Regions from separate parts of the Homo sapiens genome. Here all the other regions are linked to region 1. Evidence: promoter capture Hi-C in human tissues and cell types (Jung and others, 2019). All regions are on one chromosome and are shown on one strand. The core of a region is centred on a gene start or on the middle of the fragment in contact, and the rest is flanking DNA. Distances in the headings are between cores, read along the strand shown. Region 1 holds the start of PEX5L (peroxisomal biogenesis factor 5 like). Region 2 overlaps PEX5L (peroxisomal biogenesis factor 5 like). Region 3 overlaps PEX5L (peroxisomal biogenesis factor 5 like).

Region 1 (2,998 bases), core at 297-2,796:
ATGTCCAAAGTAGTAAAAGGAAATTGTCCAAGGGTAACTACTAGTGGAATCTAATAGGAATCCATGTCTCCTGCTTACAGGTCTTAGTCCTTTTGTGTTTGTTTGGTTGGTTGTTTTAGGACCTCAGATGCATTGAATTGGTTCATTTCACATCCTTTTGTTCATTTCACATTCTCCTCATTAGTCCATACATGGTTCTATTTTATTTAGTTACACAGTAATTTTTAATAGGATATTAGGTGTCCTATGAATCACTACCCGGCATAGAAGATAAGACATTAACATCTAAACTTCAAGTGAAATGCTTCCCCATCTATTTCCCTGCCTCCCTTCACCCAGGGTCACCAACACTCTGAACACTATATTCATTGTTCCACTGCTTTCCTTTTTATATTGTTGTATATGAATATATGAATACACATTGACATTTCTAGGGATTTTTTAAACTTTATAAAAAGCATATTATGCTATATGCAATATTTTGGGGATATCATGCTGTACATAATATGAGGGGCCTGTAGAATTGGAGATGTTTTTACCAACAAAATTAGGTAATCACAGTATACACCACCCCGTGGTGTGTGTGTATATATGAACATTTATTGTGTAGACACATCAAACTACCCAGTCTCAACTTGAGACATATTTAAATGCACTCTTCATATATGTGTGTATGTGTGTGTAAGTGTATAGTAGTAAAGGTCTATTCATTCAGCAAATATTTATTGTGTGCCTGCCATGTGTCAGGAAGTACTAAATACCTTACTGTGCACACACGTGCAAAACCAAGTGCAACACTCCACCCCCCTAAAAAAAAGTCCCTGATCTCATGGAAATAACATTGTACAGAGGGAGAGACAGACAGTACATAAAATAAATATGGAAAATATAAAGGATGTTAGGTGATGTTACGTGCTAGGGAAAAAAATAAAACATGCCAGATCCTCAGGGACTAGGGTTTGCCGTTTTAAATAGAATGCTCGGCGATGAACTGGGGATGAGGGGAGCGGGGAGTCTTTATTTAACGGGTGATACGGACGTAACTTTCGAGAGCTGAATCAGAACCGAAGTAAACTCTTCGGCAACCCCTGCACTCAGCCTATAATGTCTGTAGGATAACAGGCTCAGCCGCGGTGGATGGCCCCCGGAGAGACGATGCATGTCTTCCCGCCTTTCTTCCGGCCGGCCATCCTCTCCGCTAGAATCGCCCTGCCCGCCGACGCCGCACCTGAACGCCGCGCTGCTGCGGGCGTTGTACACCAGCGCGACCACCGCCTGCCGGCACCTCGCCTTGCCGCCGCGCGCGCGCAGCCCCGAGGACGCGCTCGGGGAGCGCGCACCGCCCGGGGCCGCCCTCGGGCCGCTCCCAGGCCCCTGGGAACGCGCGCGCGTGCCCGGTCCCGCGGCCTCTCGGCAGGCACGCGGCTGGGAGAACGGCGCGCGCCCCGCTCGGCAGCTGCGGCGGCGGCTGGTGTAGGCGCTCACGTCAGGGCTGGGAGGAGGGGGTTCGCAGCTCAGAGAGAGAGAGACATGAGGCAACCTGGCAGGAAGCGAGAAAGAGTTCGGCGAAGAAGGAGTGAGTTCTAGAGACGCCCCGCGAGCAGGACCCGCGCCTGCAGGAGAGCCTGGCCGACCCGGCTCCTCGCCTTCTCTGCGCGCTCTCCCGCGTCCGCTTTCAGCACCCCGAGCGGAGAACAGTTCCCGGCAGCCCGCAGCGCTGCCGAGTGGCCGCCGGCCGGCCGAGTACCCGGAGCTCCAGGGGGCTCAGGAGCACCCTCTGAGAACCCGCTGTGCACCCACCTTTTCCCCTCTTTTGGTGGGCAAGTAAGCACGGGGGAAAAGCATCCGGTGGCCTCAGGGAGCCCTGAAGAAACCGAAGCAGAATGTACCAGGGACACATGCAGGTAAGACATTTCTATAGGGCTGGAGAGAATTCTTGGGGGCTAATTTAAGAGCAAGGCGGTTCACCAAGTTTCTGTGGTCAAGTGCTGCCTTCGCACAGCTCAACAAGTGAAGTGATGCAACATGACCGTGACATTTCTGTCCGGTGCTGCCGGGAAAACTAGACCGGTTTCCGAAGGTGGGAGAAGGGGAGGGAAGACCTCAGAACTTCGATTGGGGAAGTTTGTTTTCTGTGCATTCCCTGAGCCTGTTTCTTTAAACAGGATCAAGGAATCGAAACAGAGGAAACCCTAGAGATGACCGTGTTTCCGTTGTAATCCTATTGATGCATCTCAGCATGTATGTCAACTGAAGGGCAAACAATAATAGGAAAGACAAAGCTTTTCCTTTACCATCTGAAAAGGTTGCTTGACTTAGAACACTCTGTCACTTTCGTTTCATTTTTTAAAGTGTTATATTTAAAAAACGATTTATAGTGTATTTTCCCCCTTCACATTATGGGACATTGCCATCTACTCCAATAGTCACAGGATGACTTGGGAGGATGAATTTCAAACACATGTCCAAGGAGCTCTAATGTTTTTCAGGGGAGGTGCTGCCTCCGGTTGTTATTAATATTCATCTGAGCTGAGCCGCTGCTTCTTTCCGATGCAAACACACTCTACTCTCTTGGGCAAGATTACTTTAACCTTGACTCCAGTTCTCATTCATACGGTTGGTTGGTTCTTATAAAGGCAGATATATGCTTTGGGAGAAAAATAAAATACTAACTCAGCTTTCTAAAGTATGAACTGGACTCTTTATCGCACCTAAATGGTTTAGTCATCAGGTTTGATGTTTGGGCTTCCTTTCCATTCCAAAGATGGTCAAATACAATCATTATGTGTGATGCCTTTATCCTGGTGTATAACATTTATGAATACTGAGGATTTTGCTTCTGTGTCTTTTAGAGCAATTGGAAATAGATAAATATGTTGTTATATTTATGACTTAGTACTACCCAGATTTAATTTCCATAACTTAGGGAAATTCTTTTGGACTATAATCCATTTTTAAATAAAACACAATATTTCATCATAGTCTCAATTTTTATAAG
Region 2 (2,998 bases), core at 247-2,746, 58 kb after region 1:
CCATAAGGAGACTGATCGAGAAATGACAAGAATTGTGATGTTAACTTAGGATGCCTGCAGTTGTCAAGGCCATGGAATCTAGGGGTGAGAGTAATGAGTTATACCTCCAGGAAGTGTTTTCACTCTCAGGAACAGGAAAGATTTATTCTAAGATGTCATGACTGTGTGTAGATCCATATAAAATCTAAATAATAATAATAATAACCCTCAAAAGTCATTTGAGCCATAATAGAAATGCTGATTATAAGCCATTCAGTCACATACATGTAGCTTAAAAATAAATAACTTTCTGCATGAATTTTATGGCCGAAGCACAAACTTTGGGTTGATTCTTGTCAGAAACAAAATTTCATAGGCAAATTTTTCTCAAGCATGTGTCAGAGTTTCCAAAAAAATATGCTGGTCTAGAGAAGGTATAAACATCGAGGGAAAATTAAGTGAGGATACAGAATGCCTATAGAAGCAGCTGGTTTTTTCTTTCTTCTTTATTACAGTAAAGAGATCGCGTTTTAGTTTGCAAGGTCATAAAATCATGATGTCCAGATCAGTTGTTAAAAGGAAGTCAGTGGCAGGTGCGGGATGCCAGGTGTGCTGGCTGCCAGTGAGAAGGAAGAGGAGTCGCTGGAAAAGCCAATGATAAGTACACCTGTGTTTGAGATTGCTGTAACAAGGTTTCATCCCCATCTAATAGGGCCAATGCATACAAAAATAAAAAATAATGTGTCAACGGGGATCAGAAGCAGAACATCAAGCAATAAATTTTCACTTAAAATAGATTATTTGTTATTTTTCTCAGACTGCAGAGATAACAGAATACACAATTTACCTTTTTCCTGTTGGGGATGGGAGAGATTATTGTAGGACAGAAGTGTTCCCTTGCCACTGGGATCCAAGATAATACGTCAATTCTCTTAGACTCTGCACCATCTTCCACCAACAACCATTCCAGTCCTGTTGTGTCGGGGATGACAGGGTTAAAACCACCAAAAAGGAGTGCTTGCTAGTTTCATCTTGTTTTGGAAATAGCACCCAGACTGCTTAAGACTGCCAGAGAGATTATCAGATTAAAATATATAATTTTTCAATCATCATTATCTTCAGCCCACAGAAAACAATTTTTTACATATTGGTCACTGCATCCTATGATTACATTTATAACTTCTAGAGACAAGTCTATAGGGAAGGAGACAAGAACATGCCAGCTGAAAGAAAAACTGGACTCAATTTTCTGTTTAGAAGAACATTATCTTTGTTTTTTTTTTAAAATTTGAATTTGGTTTTGAGGGTGAAAGAGGATTAAAATGAATTTACTTATTGTCCTCCAAGTAATGTGGAACATTGCTGAATCTGACATAATTGAAATTTCAAGTTGAATTTTTGTTTTCTGCCTACTTGATCTCAATATGCCAGCCAAGTACTGTCCCTTAAAGCAAATGTAACCCCTCTGAGAAGTCACTTGCCACTTTCGTTGCAGGTACCAGAGGTGATTACATACTATATAGCCCAGAGTATAGTGAGGTTGTTTGCTGTTTTTCATAGATGCAGGAAACATTGATGATCAAAGGACATAAACTTGAGGATGTGGTAATTAATATCATCTTGAACTGCCTATCATTCCATGGATTAATCCCAGAAAGCTGAGTTGTTTGCTCACTAGCTTTTGACTGAGAGCTATAAAAATCCTAACGCTTTGATCAGAAATCGTTCCTCCTAATCCTAGTGATGGGACCTATACAACACTTAATGGTGAGAATATAGTTCACTGATTTGCTTTCCAAATAAAAGCAAAGATTTTCAGTAAAACAACTCCTAAACTTTAGTGCTCTGATCTTGGAAGCTTTTTGAAACAATAGTCTTACTTTTCTGAGTTTTTAAAAGTAAATTAGATAAAATAAAACTTGAAGGAAAGAATGTGTAGAAATGTGATAGTGTATATACTTTAAAAATATGTCAAGTGGGTGAAAAATTTGGGGCAAAAGCAAGTATAATAAAAGTTAGTAGAATCTAGGTAGTTGAGTACACAGGGTCTCTCTGTAAAAATTATTTTAACTTTGCAGTGTGTTTGAAATTTTCATGATAAAATACTAGAAAAGATATATTAAAAGGTACATACCTAAAGTTGAATTTGTATATTTAAGAAAATGTCACTGGACAATGATGTAAGATTGTGTAATCTTAATGGATACTTATGTTGGAACATTCTTATTTTTTGAAATCTTGGAAAATAGAAAATATTTTCAAGATGCTTCATAAACCCTTCAGGCTATTAATGTACAGACCAAAAGCCACCCTAAAGGTAGAAAAACCAGCATTAAGGGGGAACTGCCAGGCTGTAGTATTGTGATTCCCTGCCATCTTATTATCCAGCTAGTTAGTAACTGGAATACCTATTTTCCAATTAGATTTAACCTTAAAATCCAAAAAATTACTAAATGTCTGGGCTCATGCATATGGCAAAACAGTTTAAAATGCTACAACATACTTGTTGTCCTTATATTTCTTTTCTCACCCAACAACGTACATTCAGAAGTGAGTCTGATTGCCATATGTTTTGTTTGCCCATGCTTGACCCAAAAATAAAAAAGTGTACTGTGTGGCCACTCTCTTTTACCGTAGCATGATCACAGTTAGAGAGGGGGGAAAAGCCCATGAGTGTCTTTTAAAAAGACAAGACAAAAATTGTTCTTTAAAAAATGCCAGACTTAACCAGCCCCTCTGTAAATGATTCTCTGTAAAAATAATAATTTCCCTTCAGAAAATTGATCTCCCCCATACCTAAGAAAAATTAAACATCTGAAAATTGCATTTTTAACTGGTAAGGCAATTACTCTCCATTCAAAAGGTCTATTTGAGCTTACGTCCTTGAAAGGCGATCACTCTCAAGCTCTACTTCCAGGCCTTTTGGGAAAAATTTATCCTTTTTCCTTACTTCCTGTTTTCTCTCTTCATTGCCTCTTTGGCTGCCACAGAAATGAGTCTGTGGCTGTGTTGACACTGT
Region 3 (2,998 bases), core at 146-2,645, 35 kb after region 1:
AGACAGTCTTTTACAAAACCTAATATGCTCCTCACTCAGAAACACATAAGCATGGAGCATAATACAGATTGTTGTAATAATGGATTAAATCCCAGATGTTTTCCATGTTTCACATGATAGGATAGAATGAGCTAAGCTCCCTTTAGAGACTGAGTTTTCTGAATCACCTTGTTTACAGAGCTGCTAAGACTTCTGGCTTTATTTAGAAAAGTCTCAATAGGGTATTTGAAGTCAGGCTCTAAATCCTCACCTGATTTGTGTCAGTTTACATCTCCGTTAATAACACAGAATGAATTCGATTTTTATCGTTCTTTTCTCTGTTTGAAAAGAGAAACTCCTTGGTCTCATCTATAATCGTTTCCTACCCTGTGAAATGAGAATTTATGTGAAGATAAAATACGCTCCAAATTTAACAAGCTATGAAAATGTAAGATAATTTAGATCTTTATGGGACAATTTGTGTTATTGCAATTGTTTCCTGATTTAGCAAGATTATTTACTGTACTTCCTAACTTTTTCTGCAAGGAAGAGGTTTATTATATTTGCCATTATCTCAGTCTTCTCTTGTGAAATACTATTTGTGAGGTAGTCTTCACACAATTCTAGGGCAGCTGAATTTCTAGCTATAGTTAAAACTGAAGAAAATATATTTCTTGATGGAAAAATTAATATGCCCCCCAAAAGGATTATATTGATAGAAAAATACAGGTTTGGACAAATATTTACAACACATTTGACAAAGAGTAAATGGATATACTATACAAAAAGTTCTCACAAATTGCCCATAAACAGACCCAAAACACAATTTACAACTGGGGATAATATACAAATGGGAATTTTCTAGGAGAGAACCTTCAAATGATCAATACATATAACAAGATGATCAAATTAACTAATAGTTAGGGAAATGCAATGAAAGATATCACTTTACACTCATCAGACTTAAAAATATTTTTAAAGTAATAATACCTGTTTCTGTCAAGAATAGGAGAAAAGGCATAACTAAGAAAGGCTTGTGTGGCAGTCAGCAAGCTTGTAACCTGGCAACATCGTAAAACAATTTTTAAATAAAAAATACACTCTTCTAATCAGCAATCTCATCCCTAGGAATCTATCACATGGCACTAAAGCAACCAGAACTTAAGGAAATATGCACAAAGATACTAAATGCAGCATTGTTCAGTTAGGAGAAAAAGGAAACCAAAGGAATGCTCGTATTTTTTAAAAAGTTGAGAAGTTCATGGTACATTCATACCTAGAATAACATGCAGGCATTAAAAAGAATGAAATAGAGCTATGAAGATGGATTTAGGTGGTTGTTCTTGAAGTATAGTTGAGAGATGAAAAACAAGTACAAAGAAGTAAGTGCAATATCATACTACTTGTAAAATAACGACAACCCCAGCTAACGTCTATATGTATATGGTTAAATATATTTACCTACAAATATGTGTGTTTGGCTATGACTATGGATAATATAGATAAAATAAACATTATCTTGTTGATTATTCATGGATGGATAAGTGTGTATTTGATGATGTAAATGTACTGGGAAGCAGGAAGGGTAGGTAAGCAAAAAAGAAAAGACTAAACTATAAAAATAGCACATATGATATTACCCCAGTAAAGCATTTATGTCAAGTTGCATATGTGTATAAAACATATGCATAAAATAGTTTATTAAAAATGATTAAAACTTAATGACTTCAAATAAAATTCACAGGTTATTACTTGAAAGCACAATGAAAAATAAATGTAGTGAACACTGTTTATCAACCCTCTGTCCAAAAGATGTGTACATAGGTTTAGCTACAAATATATGGTTTGAAGCGTTCCTCTATGAGCAATGACAACAAAAAAAAAATTTGTTTTCTTTTAACATGTGCACAAAGAGTTTATTTACCAAGTTCGTTTTTATCAGAGAGACGGTGGGTGTATAAGTCAGAGTTCTCTAGAGAAACAGAACTAATATGATATATATATATATCTTCTATATATCCATATATATTATATATTTTATTTTATATATATATATGAATATAAAGGGGAGTTTATTAAGTATTAACTCACATGATCATAAGGTCCCACAATTGGCCATCTGCAAGCTGAGGAGCAAGGAGAGCCAGTGCAAGTCCCAAAACAGAAGAACTTGGAGTCCGATGTTCAAGGGCAGGAAGCATCCAGCACGGGAGAAAGATGTAGTTTGAAGGCTAGGCCAGTCTAGTCTTTTCACATTTTCCTGCCTGCTTTGTATTCTAGCCAAGCTGGCAGCTGATTAGATGGTGCCCACCCAGATTAAGGGTGGGTCTGCCTTTCCCAGCCCACTGACTCAAATGTTAATCTCCTTTGGCAACACCCTCATAGACACACCCAGGATCAATACTTTGCATCCTTCAATTCAATCCAGTTGATACTCAATATTAACCATCACAAGTCCACCCCTTGTCAACTTGAACCCACACATATCTCCTGAGATCACACATAATCTTCAATAAAGACAATAATAAGGTCATAATTACACCTAACATAATACAACTATCCTCGTACAACCAGAAATGCACCAATCCCCAACCTAAATATTACTACATAAAGTTAACAATACTTAAATGCTGGTATGAAATCAATAAATCTGATGTCACGTGATAAGGGAAAAAGGAAATAAAATCAACATATCTTCTTAGTACAAGTATATACATGCACAAACATGTTTTTAACAAAAGAAGGAGGAAATATGTCAATTACAGTCCTTGTTTCTGCAGCTAGTCACGTGGTCATAGCTGGTATTGATGACTACCTCCTTCTGCTACCCATTCTGTATTCCCTTTGATTCACCTAGCACCTCAGCAGGTCGTGGTTTTTTTTCCTGGAGGAGTGACCCAAACCTTCATTCCTAAAGGGTCTGGGCCATGTGTAGTCCTGCCTGGATTGGGCTGTTGTAGTTTCCCATTGACCTTAATCACAGGGCATGATAATACTAAGAGACACCCTAATGGATCTC

Evidence for each region. Contacts are between HindIII fragments. The study calls those that stand out against the background at their distance.
Region 2: a contact is called between a fragment that was not itself captured here and the fragment with the promoter of PEX5L in region 1, in 1 of the 25 tissues and cell types used here (hippocampus).
Region 3: a contact is called between a fragment that was not itself captured here and the fragment with the promoter of PEX5L in region 1, in 1 of the 25 tissues and cell types used here (hippocampus).

The regions. Positions count from the first base shown.
Region 1 is chr3:180,035,485-180,038,482 of GRCh38, reverse strand. PEX5L (peroxisomal biogenesis factor 5 like) reads left to right here and starts at 1,546. Exons shown (of 15, transcript NM_016559.3): 1 at 1,546-1,904. The coding sequence starts at 1,884. RefSeq lists a silencer at 1,431-1,480. The HindIII fragment of the contact is 6,291 bases long and covers 1-2,998 here.
Region 2 is chr3:179,977,514-179,980,511 of GRCh38, reverse strand. The region is part of intron 1 of PEX5L (peroxisomal biogenesis factor 5 like); the gene reads left to right. LOC124909463 (a long non-coding RNA gene) reads right to left here. Exons shown (of 2, transcript XR_007096182.1): 2 at 468-951. Among named protein-coding and RNA genes, the nearest start is that of PEX5L, 58 kb to the left of the region's middle. The HindIII fragment of the contact is 6,006 bases long and covers 1-2,998 here.
Region 3 is chr3:180,000,360-180,003,357 of GRCh38, reverse strand. All of the region lies in intron 1 of PEX5L (peroxisomal biogenesis factor 5 like), which reads left to right. Among named protein-coding and RNA genes, the nearest start is that of PEX5L, 35 kb to the left of the region's middle. The HindIII fragment of the contact is 9,703 bases long and covers 1-2,998 here.